3 separate regions of the Homo sapiens genome follow, and regions 1 and 2 are each linked to region 3. Evidence: promoter capture Hi-C in human tissues and cell types (Jung and others, 2019). All regions are on one chromosome and are shown on one strand. Each heading gives the region's core, a stretch centred on a gene start or on the middle of the fragment in contact. The rest is flanking DNA. Distances are from core to core; before and after follow the strand shown. Region 1 holds the start of CERCAM (cerebral endothelial cell adhesion molecule). Region 2 holds the start of ODF2 (outer dense fiber of sperm tails 2). Region 3 overlaps TBC1D13 (TBC1 domain family member 13).

Evidence for each region. Contacts are between HindIII fragments. The study calls those that stand out against the background at their distance.
Region 1: a contact is called between the fragment with the promoter of CERCAM here and a fragment that was not itself captured in region 3, in 4 of the 25 tissues and cell types used here (dorsolateral prefrontal cortex, hippocampus, lymphoblastoid cells and 1 more).
Region 2: the fragment with the promoter of ODF2 here is called in contact with a fragment that was not itself captured in region 3 in 2 of the 25 tissues and cell types used here (dorsolateral prefrontal cortex and spleen).

The regions. Positions count from the first base shown.
Region 1 is chr9:128,419,547-128,422,246 of GRCh38, forward strand. It overlaps CERCAM (cerebral endothelial cell adhesion molecule), which reads left to right and starts at 1,311. Exons shown (of 13, transcript NM_016174.5): 1 at 1,311-1,528. The coding sequence starts at 1,332. RefSeq lists a silencer at 697-1,596 and an enhancer at 1,857-2,046. The HindIII fragment of the contact is 34,497 bases long and covers 1-2,700 here.
Region 2 is chr9:128,454,593-128,457,292 of GRCh38, forward strand. ODF2 (outer dense fiber of sperm tails 2) reads left to right here and starts at 1,414. Exons shown (of 21, transcript NM_001351578.2): 1 at 1,414-1,663. The coding sequence starts at 1,500. RefSeq lists enhancers at 487-1,223, 1,097-1,186, 1,224-1,959, 1,317-1,366, 1,960-2,695 and 1 more and silencers at 1,587-1,896, 2,027-2,126, 2,157-2,306, 2,517-2,566. The HindIII fragment of the contact is 20,941 bases long and covers 1-2,700 here.
Region 3 is chr9:128,807,339-128,810,038 of GRCh38, forward strand. TBC1D13 (TBC1 domain family member 13) reads left to right here. Exons shown (of 12, transcript NM_018201.5): 12 at 476-2,700. The coding sequence ends at 541. Among named protein-coding and RNA genes, the nearest start is that of ENDOG, 9.8 kb to the right of the region's middle. The HindIII fragment of the contact is 3,371 bases long and covers 1-2,700 here.

The sequences.
Region 1 (2,700 bases), core at 61-2,560, 390 kb before region 3:
CTGCAAACCCTCCCAGATGGGTGGCGTTATCAGCCCGATTTTACCCGAGAGGCTCCTGAGGGAAAGGGACCTGTCTGAGGTTGGTGACAGACACCCAGTTCGATCCCATCTGTGGTGCCGCCAGGCCGCTCCCTTTTCTGCTCCTCTCCCGAGAGGCTGCAGAGTTCTTTCCCTCCCAGCAGGGTCCTAAGGACCCCGGCGGTGCTCCAGGGGAGCCAACATCCCCTGCTTTGGAGGACGGACGGGTCGGGTCGCAGTGAGCAGCTCCGTGGTGTCCCCTAGTTCTACACTCAGACCAAGAGAGGGCTGTGAGGGCTGTGCTCTTTTTTTTTTTTTCTTTTTGAGACGGAGTCTCGGTCTGTCATCCAGGCTGTAGTGCAGTGGCGCGATCTCGGCTCACTGCAACCTCCGCCTCCCGGGTTCAAGCGATTCTCCTGCCTCAGCCTCCCAAGTAGCTGGGAGTACAGGCACCCGCCACGACGCCCGGCTAATTTTTGTATTTTTAGTACAGATGGGATTTCACCATCTTGGCCAGGCTGGTCTTGAACTGATCTCAGGTGATCCTCCCGCCTCGGTCTCCCAAAGTGCCGGGATTACAGGCGTGAGCTACCACGCCCGGCCTGGCTGTGCTCTCTTAAAGGGCCGAAGCAATGCGGGTGCTGGCGACCGACGCAAGGAGGTGACGCACAGGGGACTTAAGGAGCGGACCGCCGCGGGAGGACGCGCCCAGCTCAGGGGGACTCCCTCTGCGCCCCCCACGCTGGGTCTCCGGCCCACGCGTGGCCCGGCTGGTCTGCGGAGCTAGCGCCAGGGCCGCCAGAGGGCGCCCGGGGCGGAGGATGGGGCGGGAGCCGGGGAAGCCCGGGAGGTGGTGGCCGAGTGGGCGCCGCCCCTCTGGGTCTGCGGCTCAGGTCGAAGAGTCGGCTGCGTGGGCCGGGGAATCCGGATTCCGGGGGTTCAACGCCCAGGGGTTCCATGAGCCCCTACTGTTCTCGGACGCCCGGCCGGCCCCGACGCACTCGTCCTAGCACCCCTCCCCTGTCCGGTCCTCCGGCCCCTCCGCCGTCGCCCCTCCGGGGTCCAGCCGGGCGGGGCTGCTCCAGGGTCGCGGCTGGCGCGGGTCCCCGGGCCCTGGCCCTCCGGTGCCCCGGGCCAAGGAGAGAAAACTTGAGCATCCACGCACAGGGGTGGGGAGCAGGATCCCACTCTGAGGGTGCACTGCCCCGCCCTCTCCGGGTCTGCCTCGGCCCCGCCCGGGCCCCAGGCCCCGCCCCCTCCCCTCGGCCGGCCCGAGAGCTCCGGGGGCCGCTGCAGCCGCCCAAGCGCCCGCCATGCGCGCTGCCCGCGCCGCGCCGCTGCTCCAGCTGCTGCTCCTGCTGGGGCCGTGGCTGGAGGCTGCGGGCGTTGCGGAGTCGCCGCTGCCCGCCGTGGTCCTTGCCATCCTGGCCCGCAATGCCGAACACTCGCTGCCCCACTACCTGGGCGCTCTGGAGCGGCTGGACTACCCCCGGGCCAGGATGGCCCTCTGGTGAGAGACCCGGGCATTGGCACCGAGTGGGCACCTAACCCCCAGCTTCGCAGATGGCCCCCGCCCCCGGCGGCCCTGTCTGCTCGCTCCCTGCCCAGACACCACCTAGACAGGCCCCTCCCCTCACAGACGGCCCTGCCAGCCCGAGCCGCCAGAGAGGACCCCGAGCCCCCTGCTGGGAGACGACAGACCTCTGAGGCCACAGGCCGACGCGGGACACCCACCCCTCCTTCTGGTCCCCTACTCCTTCCTCTTGGGGCCTTCCCTGGGTGTAGGTTGGGCCCAGCCAGCCCTTTTCACCCCAGCCTTCAGGGCCCAGCTCAACCCCAGTGGGACCTGTGGTTGGCTGGATTTGAAGAGGAGCAGACAGGAACCTCTGAAGTCCACTGGGGCCCAACGTGGCAGGGATCGACCACGCTGGAGGCTTCCGGGCACAGGTTGGGGGTGCCATCAGCACTGGGCTCCGGGCTGTGCAGGGGAGTCAGACCGGCCCCCCCACCGCCCCCGTGCTGGGGCCAGCTCTCTTGGTAGATCTTGGTAGAGGGGCGGGATCCTGTCAGCCAAGGGCAGTCCCCCTTCCTGGAGCCTCTCCCCTCTGGCATCTCTGTACCCCCAGGGCACTGGGATCGAAGGCCACAACCCCTGGTCTGTAGACACCAGAACAGGGAGGAGTCCCTGGCTGAGGTTGGGGGTAAACTGAGAAAAATGACAAGCCACCCTCTTCAACACACCACAGTTGGGCTGGGGGGGTGGAGCCCTGGCCTGGGGAGGCCGCCCACAATTACCACAGTTTGGGAGTTTGTTAGTTCCCACCCCTGTAAGACTTGACACGTAGTCTTCATTTCTGGGGAATTGGCTTAAAGGGGCAGCATCACCCAAAACCTGGGCACTTGGCTAAACCCCCACCTCTGTTATGGGGGCCCCTTCCCCAGGAGAGGGGAGGCTGTGCCCCATGACAGCAGAGCTTGGACCCATCTGCATTCTTAGGGACGCTTAGAGCATGGTTTGGTCCTTATTACAACCTGGGGGTGGAGGAAAGCAGCAGCTCTTCTGTCTAGTCCCCATTCAGAGAGGGACAGGGGCTGGCCTGTGGTCACACAGCCACAGGTCACATAGGTAGGTATCTGCCCACCTAACGAAGGTAACCAGGGAATGCACCAGGTGTGATCCTT
Region 2 (2,700 bases), core at 164-2,663, 350 kb before region 3:
TGAAGTGTAGTGGTGATTTTGGCTCACTGCAACCTCCGCCTTCCAGGTTCAAGGAATTCTCCCTGCCTCCTCCTCCCTAGTAGCTGGGATTACAGGCACACACCACCATGCCCGGTTAATTTTTGTATTTTTAGTAGAGACGGGGTTTCGCTATGTTGGGCAGTCTGGTCTTGAACTTCTGACCTTAGGTGATCCGCCTGCCTCAGCCTCCCAAAGTGCTGGGACTACAGGCGTGAGCCACCGCAGTCTTAAATGGTTAATGAGGATTAGGAAATCTATCAATTATTCAACAGAGAGACAATGAATGGATCAAGGGATTGGGGAGCTCCCTGACATTACAGAACAAATTCAGTATGCAGTATACTGTGAAAGCGAGGCGGAAAAGCAGGTTTTGTTTGCGAGTCTGACTTTAGGATTGCAGGTGAAACACTTGTGTGACCCTGGAGCTGTGTGGCTAAGGTGCTGCGGGGTCACTGGAGAAAGGTCAAGGGACTGTGGCCCAGTTGGCCCGGAGGTGGTTCAGGTCTCCCAGATTCCAGGGCGGCATTATGAGCCACGTGACAGACCTCCCCTGACTGGCTGACAGTGAAGCATAATTGAGAAGATGGCGGACCAGCAAGGACCTCATCAGAATAGGTCTGTACACAGAGCGGCATAGAGAGTGCAGGAGGGTAGTAGACCGGGCGCGGAGGCTCAAGCCTGTAATACAAGCACTTTGGAAGGCCGAGGCGGGTGGATCATGAGGTCAGGAGATGGAGACTATCCTGCCCAACACGGTGAAACCCCGTCTCTACTAAAAATACAAAAAAAAATTAGCCGGGCGTTGTGGCGGGCGCCAGTAGTCCCAGTTACTCGGGAGGCTCAGGCAGGAGAATGGCGTGAACCCGGGAGGCGGAGGTTGCGGTGAGCCGAGATCGCGCCACTGCACTCCAGCCTGGGCAACAGAGCAAGAATCTGTCTCAAAAAAAAAAAAAAAAAAAAAAAAAAAAAAAAAAAAAAAAGTGCAGGAAGGTAGTGAACAGAACAGCAAGGGGAATGCCGACCCTTTCTCCTGTTGGGGCCAAGACAGAGGCGATGTGGGCAGGGGAGAGGCCGGGGAATGCGCAGAAGCCGACTCCATCTCCGCATTAATAGTGGACTAGGGGCAGGGCTGGATTTTCGGAGGCAGTGTGCAGCTCCCAATAACTAGTTCCATGGGTCCTCTGTGAGCCTAGTTTCCTGGTGGGTACCGAGGGGAGGGCGTCGGAACCGTACGCTCCTTTGAGTGAGGGGAATCCGGGAGGATCCAAGGCAGGGGAAACAGGGCCGAGCGGGAAAGGCCTTGAATGGGGGGCGAGACCCGGCCAGGCCCGCTGGACGCGTAGCACGTCTCCTTGGTGACGGGACGCGTGGCCCGGAAGTGGGCGGCCCTTCTGGCGGGGCGGGGCATCTCTGTGACGCTAGGGGCTGGGCCTCGATGGCGAAACCCAAGCGGCTCCCGGGGGGGTTTGAACTGGCCAATGGGCGAGCTGCCGACCGGGTGTCGGAAAAGGAGGCGGAAGCGGGGAGGAGCCGCTGCCAGAGCCAGACTGCATCCGCCGCGGCGTCTCCATGGCACGACCCTGGCCTCCGACTTCAACGACTTCATAAGGCGGCGTTTCTGGGCGCAGCCGTGTCGCTCCTGGTGAGAGGCCGCCGGCAGGCGGGATCCAGCGCCCTCCGGGGCACCGCGGGCGAGACCGTCGCCTTCGCACCCCCGGCGCGGTCGACCCCGCGGGGCCGTCGGGTCCTGGGTTCCCCGCCGCGTTGCGCTCGTCCCCCTCCTGTCAGAACCTGGGCCCCCGCCCCGCCCACCGGCGCGGGGCCTCTCCTCCTCCCGCTAACGGGCGGTCGGCCGCCTCCTTCCTCTCTTGGCTACCACGGGGCTCTGCCCCTCCTCTGCCGCCCGCGGGCAGGGCTTCACCTTTCTCTCTATGGGCAGAAACCGGTACCCTCCTGCCTGCTGGTGGGTGGCCGTCCCTTCTCTCCGCCGACAGAGGCTCTCCCTCGCTCTGCTGCCCGTCGGCGGCATCGCCCCGACCGCCTCGTCCTCTCCTCGGGCCTCCACATGGCAGTCACTTGTACGCCCTCCGTAGGCAGCGCTGTCCCCCGGGCACCGTCTCCGGCTTGCCAGGGCCCTCGCCCGGCGGGGGGGGGTCCCGCCCGCCCCCTCCCAGCCCGGCGTCTATCCTGCTCAGAACTCTGTTCGGTTTTCCCTCGCGGCGGGGCGCCCGGGGCCCGTGCAACCTCCGCGCCTCCCTCCTTTAAACACTATTGGTCCTCTCGGGCATCTGTTCTTCCGTAACGCCCCTTCTCCTAGGAGACAGTTGTCCGGCCCCGCCCCAGCATCCCCGCGGCTCCCTGCGCGGTTCTGGCCCTCTGGGGCCCACTTGGGGCCGAGCGGTTCTCACCCGCCCTCTCCGCACGTCCGCCGGCGCCTCAGGTTTCCCCCGGTAGCCACCGGCAGTCCTCCGCGTGGGACCCGGGCGCGGTGGTCCTTTCCCTCGCGGTTCTGCCCCGTCCCCTCCCCTTCCTCCCCTCTGCCCCCAGGTCGCTCAGCCTCTACTATTTCCCCCTACTTTGGCAGGACAGTTGCTGTGCGACTTGGACAGTAGAGGAGCGCCTCCCAAGTTTTCATCCAACTGCCAACCCCAAAGCTTCCACCCTTCTCCCCTCAGAGAG
Region 3 (2,700 bases), core at 33-2,532:
AGCCTCCCAAAGTGCTGAGATTACAGGTGTGAGCCACCAAGCCCAGCCTAGAGTTGCTTTTCCCTAACTTCATGGACCAGATCTGGAAAAAGTGCAGAATCACAGTGGCCACTCACAGGGCTGTTGGGACTTCGCGCTGATGCTCAGACACTGGCCCAGTCCTACTGGCTCCACACGAGGGAGCTCGGGTTCAGTGGCAGTAGTGGGAGAGCTGAGGCAGCACGGTCTGGTCCTGAGGAAAGGGCCGCAAGAGCCTGGGAGTGGTTGTGTTTGGATCGTTGAGTTGGTGCTGCATGGTGTAGCGTCAGCTGCATGCAGGGGTCTGGGGGTTGGGGAGTGTGGGATGCCTGGTGTTCTGTGCTCCTGCCCCTGAGGCCCAGGATCCAGCATGGCAACGGGTCCCAGCAGGGAGGGTGTGGGTGTGGCAGGGGTGAAGTGGCTTCAGAGGCAACTGTTGGCCTTTTCCTGTGCCCAGGACTACCCCATCACAGATGTCTGCCAGATCCTGCAGAAAGCCAAGGAGCTCCAAGACTCAAAGTAGCCCGGCGGCAAGAGGCCCATGTTCCGGAGAGAAGCCTCCCGACCCTGTGCCCTGGCTCCCGGGACACATAGAAACCTGTAGGAACCCAGCCTGAGGGGAAGCCACAGGATCGGCCCGAGACCCAGGCCATGCCCACTGGGGACACACTGTGCCGTGCTCCTTCTGCCGCCACGCCCAGCTCCCCACCTGCCCTGCACTCTGCCCTCTTTGCCCAGGATACTGAGGAGGGCTGGAGCTCGGGAAGTTGTCCTTCCTGGGCCAGGGCCGTTTCTGGCACTGGGAGGCTGGCAGGGGCCCCTCCCTGCCTCGGCTCTGCCGCCCCAGCCTCAGTTCCTGCTTCTGGTCTTCTCCTGGGCTCCACTCAGGGGAGGTGCTTGGCCAATGGGCCAGAAACCGCTTCTGAGCGGGGCACTTCGGCTGCTCCACAGGGAAGGCGACACTGAAAGCTGAGTCCTGCCGTCTGTCTCACCCACAGATGTCTGTAGTCGGTCGGTGTGAATGTGGGCCCAAGTCCCCAGGCATCTTCTCCGTGTGTGTGTGTGTGTGTGTGTGTGTGTGTGTGTGTGTGTGTGTGTGTTAGGGAGTGAGGGTCTCTCAGGCCTCCAGGTCTCCCAGCCCCTCCTTCTCTGTCTCTACCTCTCTGCCTGTCTCCTTCCACCTCCTTCCCAGAGTGGGACTGTGTCTTGCTTCATGATTCCTCTCTCCATTACTCTCCCTGCCCTTCTCTGTTGGGGTGCCTTATCCTGAGCCACCTCCTCTCCCCGCTTGCCTCTGCTCCCCTGAACCTGGGAGACAGATGAGGAGACTGGCTCAGCAAGGCCCCTGGAGGTCAAGCTTGGCCTTTGCCTCCTGTTCCCATCCCCCAGCCCTGGCTCCTAGGTCCTCCCAACTGGGAGGGAGTCCTCCGTGCCTCACTTAGAGGGTTCTGAACCCGTTCCCTACACAGAAATCTTGGAAACCAAATGCTGCTGAGTAAGGATGAAGCTTTGAGCCTCCTGCCCCTGCTTTCTGCCCAGGGAGGGAGAAGGAAGAGGGGGAGCTGGTTTTTCTGGAGGTTCCCCCAGAGGCCCTCCTGTCCGAAAAGAAAAGGACCTTGATTCTGAGCCCAGGGTCGGAACCCATTGCTTCAGAAGAGTTGTCATTCCCTCGGCTTCCAGGTCCCAACCCAGGGTTGGGTTGAGTGAGTCCCACAAAGGGCAAGTGGGGCCCGAGGAAGCCTCTCTGGGGCCAGGGGTAGCTGAGCTTAAAGGCCCTGGGTCCTGCCAGTTCCAGGAGGGCCATGTCTGTGCCTCTGTGTACCCCTCCACCCGCTGCGGGCTGAGGGAGGTGCAGGGCCTTCTCTGACCCCTGCCTGAGCTGTTCCCAGGGCTGGAGCAGGTGTACCCTGAGCAGGGGCAGCTGGCCACTCCCAGTTCTCACCAAGTCACCTCCCTCCTTGTACAAGGTTTGCGTCCGGAAGCCGGGTGCCATAGTGAGGACCCTCGTCCTCCAGACTGGCTGGCAGGAGTCAGGCCCCAGCAGCCCTCCTGCCCCCAAAGCTTTCCGAGTCTGGTGGGCAGGACTTCTCGCTGCCCTTCCAAGCCCGGCTTTGGGCCAGGAAAGGCTTCCCCAGGTGGCTCTTCTACCAGGCTTTTCCTTTGATGCCGCCTGGATTTCCGCACCTGCCTGTCTCCTCTCCCAGAGCACAGTATTTGGGAGACTTTGACTATTTATTCAGACTCCTGGCTATGTATTGCACATTGGCAAGTGCTCTGGGGATGAGGCATGGGTATAGGAAGGGAGAAAGGAGTTGGAGACAAGATCCTCTTCATTTTCCAAGATCAAAGTCAGCCTCTTCTCCCCATGCTTCTAGGAACTGCCTGGTTTTCGAGCAGGTCCTGGCTGAGCGGGCTCTGAGTTCTGTACTGGAATTGAGTGTAAAGATGGGAAGAGAACTGGGCTGACTCCAGGACCTCCAGGATGAGGCAGAGGCATGATGCTTCCTGCTCACCTGGGCCACCCTCTCTCCAGGACTTGTCAGCTGGTGGTTCAGCCCCTTCTCCAACCCCTTCATAAGCTTGGGCCACTGCCTGGGACCCAGCAGACACTGCCCAGGACTCTTTAGTGCACTCACTCTTGTCTGCCCCCTACCTTCCCTCCTGGAACCACACTACTTGAAT